2 separate regions of the Homo sapiens genome follow, and region 2 is linked to region 1. The links are contacts of gene promoters, found by promoter capture Hi-C in human tissues and cell types (Jung and others, 2019). All regions are on one chromosome and are shown on one strand. The core of a region is centred on a gene start or on the middle of the fragment in contact, and the rest is flanking DNA. Distances in the headings are between cores, read along the strand shown. Region 1 holds the start of NT5C3A (5'-nucleotidase, cytosolic IIIA). Region 2 has its middle 35 kb from the start of FLJ20712.

What was found. The method cuts DNA at HindIII sites, captures the fragments that hold promoters and counts their contacts. A contact is called where the count stands out against the background at its distance.
Region 2: a contact is called between a fragment that was not itself captured here and the fragment with the promoter of NT5C3A in region 1, in 2 of the 25 tissues and cell types used here (heart left ventricle and lymphoblastoid cells).

Annotation. Positions count from the first base shown.
Region 1 is chr7:33,061,168-33,065,055 of GRCh38, reverse strand. NT5C3A (5'-nucleotidase, cytosolic IIIA) reads left to right here and starts at 2,280. Exons shown (of 9, transcript NM_001002010.5): 1 at 2,280-2,488. The coding sequence starts at 2,351. It overlaps LOC124901610 (a long non-coding RNA gene), which reads right to left and starts at 1,871. Exons shown (of 4, transcript XR_007060279.1): 1 at 1,408-1,871; 2 at 909-1,027. RefSeq lists an enhancer at 1,766-1,925 and silencers at 2,166-2,285, 2,586-2,645. The HindIII fragment of the contact is 10,077 bases long and covers 1-3,888 here.
Region 2 is chr7:33,759,263-33,763,150 of GRCh38, reverse strand. No RefSeq gene overlaps it. Among named protein-coding and RNA genes, the nearest start is that of FLJ20712, 35 kb to the right of the region's middle. The HindIII fragment of the contact is 5,997 bases long and covers 1-3,888 here.

The DNA of each region.
Region 1 (3,888 bases), core at 1,031-3,530:
GCCTTGTTGCTCACACAAAGCCTGTTTGGTGGTCTCTTCACACGGACGAGAGTGAAACGCAGCACCATGCCCAGCTAATTTCTTTGGTTTTTCAGGGATTGTAGAGACAGGGTCTCGCTATGTTGCCGAGACTGGTCTCAAACTTGTGGCCTCAAGCAATCCCCCAACCTTGGGCTTCCAAAGTGCTGAGATTACAGGCACCAGCCACCTCACCTGGCCTGATTTCTTTCATCAGTATTTTGTAGTTCTCCGTGTAGAGATCTGTACTAGTCTGTTTTCAGGCTGCTGATAAAGACATACCCCAGACTGCGCAATTTACAAAAGAAAGAGGTTTAATTGGACTTCCAGTTCCACGTGGCTGGGGAAGCCTCACAATCATAGTGGAAGGCAGGGAGCAAGTCCCATCTTACATGGATGGGAGCAGACAAAGAGAGAATGAGGAAGACGCAAAAGCGAAAACCCTGATAAAACCATCAGATCTCCTGATACTTAAGTCACTACCACGAAAACAGTATGGAAGAAAACACCCCAATGATTCAATTATCTCCCACCAGGTCCCTCCCACAACACATGGGAATTATGGGAGTATAATTCAAAATAAGATGTGGGTGAGGATACAGGGTCAAACCATATCAAGATCTTCCATGTCTTTCAACAAGAATAATTAATATGTTAATTCACATAGAAGCTGAAATAGTCTCCAAACATGGCCAACCCTCTTAGATTCAGAAACACAAGGTTTACACTTATAAAAAACATATGGACCCCTTTCCTCCTGGAAATTTACTACCAGGGTTTGTAGTCTAATTGACTATACTCCTACAGCTTTAACATCTCATATAGATGATAATCAGACCTATGATATAGTATAACTAGTTAAAATAGAAATCATATTTCAGAGTACCCACATTCTTCCCATGTGCAGTTGACGGGCCATATTACAAAAACAAAATTTGGAACTCCATTTCTGTTTTAGATTGTCCACAGCTTCAAGACGAATGTTATCGTCTACAAAATGTTTAAAATCCTGAAATTATAGAAACGTGGCTTTAGTCTCTACCCATTCAAAATAATATGTAATATATGGAAAATGTTTTTGTTGAGGAAGAAAGATAAATGAGACTGTGACCATCTTAGGCCTCACAATCAGACAACATTTAAGTCATATTGGTATTTGGTGCAAAACTGGATTCATAAAAAATTACTTTGGCGACAAAATGACACAGTAGTCTAGATATTGATACTCAAATATTCTGGGTATTAAAACTCAGTCTTCTTCAGGTTATACTCCCAGCTAACTTACTTTGGGACACGTTCTCGGTCTATACTGAGTCTGTGTTCCCAGGCTTAAGTCCTCAAACTTGGCCGAGTAATAAAACTAACCATGATTTCTTTAAGTTTTAGTACCTGTTATTTCACCTTTCGGTCGACAAATCGTTTTTCTCATGTTCCTCTGTCTTACATCAATTTAATTTGTAGACCAGCCAAATGACCTAAAAGGCTAGAAGGAAACAATTTTTCCTCCCCTACAACTATTTCCTCTAGTCCTCCGGCTGAAAGTTGTTCCACGTCCTGGGCAGAGAGAGCCCCACCAGGCAGCACCACCAGCTCCACAGAGTTGGAGCGATTCCCCCAAGAAGCTCCCCTGCGCCCCTCCTCACCCCCAGAGACCAGCAGAAGAAATGGCATCTATCCCTTGGAAGACACTAGGCAGGAGAGAACAACTGCAAGCCCTTCTGCTCACACAGAAAAAAGGATGGCGGAGGTGGCGAATGGGATGTAGCAGAAACCCCGCGGCTGCGGCGGAAGGGACACCGCCCCTCTCCAGCCTAACTCTGAGCCATCTTCCCCCTGTTGTTATAGCACTTAGAACGGACGCCACTGCGCAGGTCACACCGTGCCGCGCAGCCTTCTGGGGGTCGGAGTCCAGAGGGGCTGAGGCGCGAAGGCGGAGACCGACTTCTTAGCGGGCCGCAGTTGGAATTAGATTTCTACTGGGGCGGGGCTCGAGCGAACCACGGCCTAATCCTCATTAGCAGAGAAGGATAATTACCGCAATACTCTGCCCTGCCCTGACAGCAGCTCGTGAGACCCTGAGTCTGCTGAAGGCCGCCTCCAGCCTGGGCTCCGGGCACAGGCCACACCCCTCCCGCCGCGTCCTGGCCTCTCCCATCGATGGCGTGTGGGTGGGGCTTCGTGGGGGCGGAGCTGCGCGGGGCGGGGCGTCGCTGCGCGGGGCGGGGCGTCGCGGGCTCGTCCGTGATGCTCTGGGATCCCGCGCTTCCGAGACTCGCAGTCTACGCGAGCTGCCTGTTTTTTTCCTGCTTGGACGCGCATGAGGGCCCCGTCCATGGACCGCGCGGCCGTGGCGAGGGTGGGCGCGGTAGCGAGCGCCAGCGTGTGCGCCCTGGTGGCGGGGGTGGTGCTGGCTCAGTACATATTCACCTTGAAGAGGAAGACGGGGCGGAAGACCAAGATCATCGAGATGGTGAGTGTGGAGGCTCGGCGCGCCCAGAGCACGCGAGGGGCCGGCTGGGCCGTCCGCTGGCCTCGGCAGCCTGTGCTGGGCCGCTGTTCGGTCGCGACGGGGAGCTGCCGGCGTCGCCTGTCAGGCTGGGATCTCGCTAGCTCGGGACGCGCAGCTTGGGGGACCCGGCCGCCCCGCGTGCGGCCACTCCGCGGGCTTGGTGACCAGGGTTGGGTCCCCGGCTGCGGCCCTTGGCTGCCCGTGGTCTTTGTTAGGTTTCCGTTTGAAGGAACAAGGCAGAAAATAGATGAATCGGACACAGGCTACTTTGTGCTGCAAAACCCGTTTCTCTAGAGATAAGCTGCATGTCCTGGGCAGGTGGCTCCTTCTCTCCCTGCCTTGCTCCCGCCCTCCCCCCGGATCCGCGTCAAACCGTTGCCGCTAATCTAGTTGCAATTCCCGCAGAGGACTAGTTTTATGTTGGGGCTGCCGTGAGTTAGATTATGAAAATGTGCAATATCTAAAATTTTACAAGAATGGCAATCCAGGAGAAATTCAGGATAGTTTATTTTGTATTTGAATGTATTCCTTCTTGTCTCAAAACTCCCACGAAATATCTTTGTTTTCATCTTAACTCCCAAAGCTCTTGTATACATTTTCGAATTTAATTTTTTATTGAAGAGGGTGTCTCAAGAATTCCCTTTGAGATACATTATAAGTAATTGTTTCAAAAATGAGGATATTTAGTTTCGTTTTGTATTTTAATTAGAACCCACTCAGGAAGACAATTCTTGCACAAACTTGCACGCTTATGTATTTCCTGAAATGCATAATCCTGGGTATACGCCTGACCGTGTGCTATACATGTGAACATCTAGGGTCAGATGATTTATGATAGAAAAAAATTTAAAATCTACACTAAATAATATCATTTTAGGGTGTAATACTTGGAATTTCTGAGCACCTGCAATATGTTCCAACTGACGAAAGACACGATTTGTCCTATTGGTTGTACTGACCCCAGGTTGAATACAGATGTATTTGCATAATTAAAATTAGCCAGTGTCCCAGCTATTTGGGAGGCTGAGAGGAAGATCACTGGAGTCTGGGAGTTCAAGGTTATAATCACACCTGTGGATAGCTACTGCACTCCAGCCTGGGAAACATAGCGAGACCCTGTCTCTTAAAAAAAAAAGTTAATTCCCACTTGTCTCATATTCCAATAATATTCCCTAATTTTGAATTAATTTATTCTTAAAGGGTCTTAATAATTCTAAAGGCTTATTAAAATTCATTTGTCCCACATCTGTATGCCCACAGCAGCAAATGGTTTTAACTCAGAAGTTTCATTTTGCTTTTGTTGCTTTCCTGCTTAGAAAACTTGGCTTTCTTTTGCCCAAGGTTAATAATGCCTATGTAGG
Region 2 (3,888 bases), core at 538-3,037, 700 kb before region 1:
CTCCCCACCCCATGGATGTCACAATTTGCTCAAGATGAATGAATACTAAAAGAGTCTTGCCAATTCAAGCGCCCTTCCTACTAGTAATTAAAACCCAGGCATTGCAGACCACAGAGAGAGAGTGGGTTGACAAATTCCTCGGGCTCATGTTTCTTTCATGGTCTTCCGGGCTGTATGAAATCACAAATATATGTTTGGATTTTATTTTCACAAGTCAGGGAAACAATAGGGAGCATGTTGATTTGTTTTTCTTACTTATAAAAAGAAAAAAAGCAGTGACATTCCATTTTCATCTACTAAGAAGAAATGATAAACTTTGGTTGAGAGGAGAACAAATTGCTTCGTTCCCCTGATCAGGCACAACGTCCTAATGTCCTGTACTATCCTGCTTCTATAATTCCTTCAATTGTTTTGGGATTTACTGTGCCCCCTACAGCTCTAAGGGGAATATTCACTCCACAAGTCACTTGCCTAACGATGGAAGCAAACTTCTTACAGCATGTATTAATGCATTATTTCCCCTTGTTCTAAATTTCTCTGCACCAAGCAAAAGAAGGAAGACATGCTCTTTCAAAATTACTGGACGAAGGTTGGCTAAAGTCAAAACTGGCCTATTAAATTTCTCTGAACCAAGCAAAAGAAGGAAGACATGCTCTTTCAAAATTACTTGACGAAGGTTGGCTAAAGTGAAAACTGGCCTAGTAATTGCCCAGTAAATCACAAGTCATAAGGCATCCTCACCTCCTCTGAACCTCAAGCCTTCAAGTTCTCTCTCTCTCTCTCTCTCTCTCATTAAATGGAAAGATAACAGCTGCTAGGGTCAGATTACCTTGGGCTGAAATCCTGGCTTCTCCATTTTCAAGGTTGATGGGCTTAGGCAAGTTATTTAGCTTCTTGAAACCCCATTTTCTTCACATGAGTAAGAACATCTAACTTGCAAGACTGTTATGAGGATTAAATGAGATGAATGTAAAGTATCGAACACAATGCCTGGCACATGATCAGTCTCAATAAATACTAGTTTCCAGATTCCCCTCCTTGGCCTCTTTTGCTAGTTTGAGTACAGCATATGTCTTCATTGTACATTCATCACAAATTCCTGGACCTCTGGCACATCAGATGTTCCAAGCATTCAGAGGTAACAAATTGGAGGGAACCCCCAAGGCTGTGGGAAGCCTGGTTTCCCAGCCCCTTATGCAGACCACCTACTGCTGCCTGCAGCAACCACCCTGTGAGGAGAGCAGCTGCCAGACAAAGGGACAAGGGACAGGCCTCCATCTGTACCTCCTCCCATTTGCCTCCAGCACAGCGGGCAGCCATCATCCCCCAGGAGACGCCTGGGAGAAGTTTCAGTGTTTCAGATGACAGATCAGCCCATGCTCTCTGACCCAGATTAGACCAGACCCAGAACCAGTCCACCCCTCTATGTCACCAGCAAAGGATTTTAATTCACTCCCAGGAGACTGTAAGGAACACTTGGACCAGTGACGCATGTAATCGGTTGCGCTCTGCAGTGAGCCTTCGGAAGGCTGTAAGTTTCACATGTTGCACTAATATTTCACCAGCCTGTCAGCCTTAGCCTGTCCATAGAAGCCAGGCTGCAAATTCAGCACTCTTCGTGTCCCCAGACAGTTGGGGGAGGAGAGGCAAAAAGGAGGCAGAAGAAGACTCAGAAGAGAAGAAGAAAGAAAACACATTTGAGACCTAATTCAGTGGTTCTCAGTGTGGCCCTGGTCCAGCAGCATCAGCATCCCCCAGGAGCTTGATAGAAAAGCAAATTCACAGGCCCCACCAGGGCCCCATCAGATATTCTATGGTGAAGCCTAGCAATCTGCTTCCACAAGCCCTCCTGCAAATCCGATGCATGTTATCACTTGAGAACCACCAAGCAAGCTAAATAATGTTTAGGTAAACTAAAAGTCTAAATTTGATGAGAAAAACAATGGCCCAGGGATCATTGTGATAAAGGAGAAAATCTCTACTTTGGGATCAGGAGTCCTTAGTATCATTTCCAGCTCCAATGATTGCTAACCATGTGATCTTGAGGAAGTGACTTATCTTTTCTGAGCTTCAGTTTCCTATGTGTTAAAGGTGGTAATCAGACCTCCCCTGCAGAGTTGGGGGATGAGATACACACTCTTTCGATGATCTAACATTTATAAGCCTGTTGTTTACTACACTACACCACAGAGCTTCCCCTGTATACTATCAGGGCGGGGTTCTCAACCTGTGGCAACTGAAAATGTCTCCAGACATTTCCGCAGGCCCCCATTCTGAAGCTCCAAGCCAAGTCAATATTGGAGTATCTTTATGCCATTCACATGAGTGAGGCAGATGGGAGGCAGGGAAGAAAAGGGAGTGGTAAGAGCTTGGGGTTCTCACAGATCTGAATTCAAATCCTAGCTCTGTACATGTTGCTTTTGTGAGCTTGGCCAAATAATTTAAGCTTTCTGAGTCTCAATTTTCCTATTGGTAAAATGGGTAGACAAATAGTAGCTACTTCTTAGGGTCTCAGTGAAAAGTTACATGATATCACGTGTGTGTAACACTTAGCATAGTGCTAGAAAATTATCACCTTGATGTACTACGTGGCCATATTTGGCTGGGCTCACAACAAATTGTGCATGATGAAACTGAAGACACTGTCTCTTAACAAGAATCCCAAAAATGATACATTTCAGTACAATGAGAAACTGGTTCCACATTTCACTCTCCATCCTTCAGTCCTTTACGGCCATTATGAACTTAGGGGTTGTCCATACAGAGAGGCTCTTTCATCAAGCCATAAGAGATTAACCACAATACAGCTTTAAAGGAACACTTTGTTTAATACCCCCCAGGGTGTGTGTGTGTGTGTGTGTGTACAGAGAGAGAGAGAACAAGAGAAAGAGACTCTTCTTGAACTCAGTAACAGTTGGCGAGAATGTGTCACCTCTAGGATAGAAAGGGAGTCCCCCTTTATATTATCAGTTACTGACCACTTACAACAACGTAGCACAGTGCACTACCTGCACTACTCACTTCATCTGCACAACCACCATTGTGAACATTATATAGGTACCACTATAATCCCCGTTTTACATGTAAAGAAACACGCTTTTAGGGGTAATTACATCCATACCACCTTAGGCAGACAGACTGATCTAATTCATTTCTTAGAGAGATTTTACAACCGATCTTTGTCATCTATTTAGCTAATATTTTCCACAGTCAGAAGAATTATCTTCCTCTGCATTAAGCTCCAAGTTGCTCTGAGACCTGATTTAGGGGGGTCAGAGGAACTGGACTAAAGCCAGGGTCATGGACTGGATTTGTCATCTTCTCCAAACATCTTTACATTCAGGCCAGACACAGCTCTGGGGAAGGAAAGCCACAGAACTGTAGATGGGTTCCTACGTTCTGTACCAAGATGGGGCTCCCACCTGGATTATGCCTGGATGGCAGCTGGCAGACACCTAGCTACATTCCAGCCACATTCAGCACCATTCTGGGGGAGATGAGGGCCTCCCTTCCTTTTTAAAGACCACCAAACTTCACTGATCCACACACTTTTCACTTTGTGGGTCACAGTTGATCATAAATATAACACGTCTGAAATCTGTGAATTTACGTTGGGTTTGTATCAATCGAGCCATCTACCTCTGGACCACTTGGGTGATACATCAGATATAGTTGGACTTTGCTCTCTTCCTGAATTCGCTAGAAACAGTTTGGGGCACATGATTAGGAAGATGTTTATTCAAAGGTAGAGTTCAGGGAGGAAAATATTATTAGGTGACTGTTGGGATTGGCTCATTATGCAAAGACTGGCTTAGAATTGCTTTTATCATAAAACTTTCACTTCTTCTAAGTTTAGTCCAATAACAAAAGTCTTCCTGTGGCAGTGGA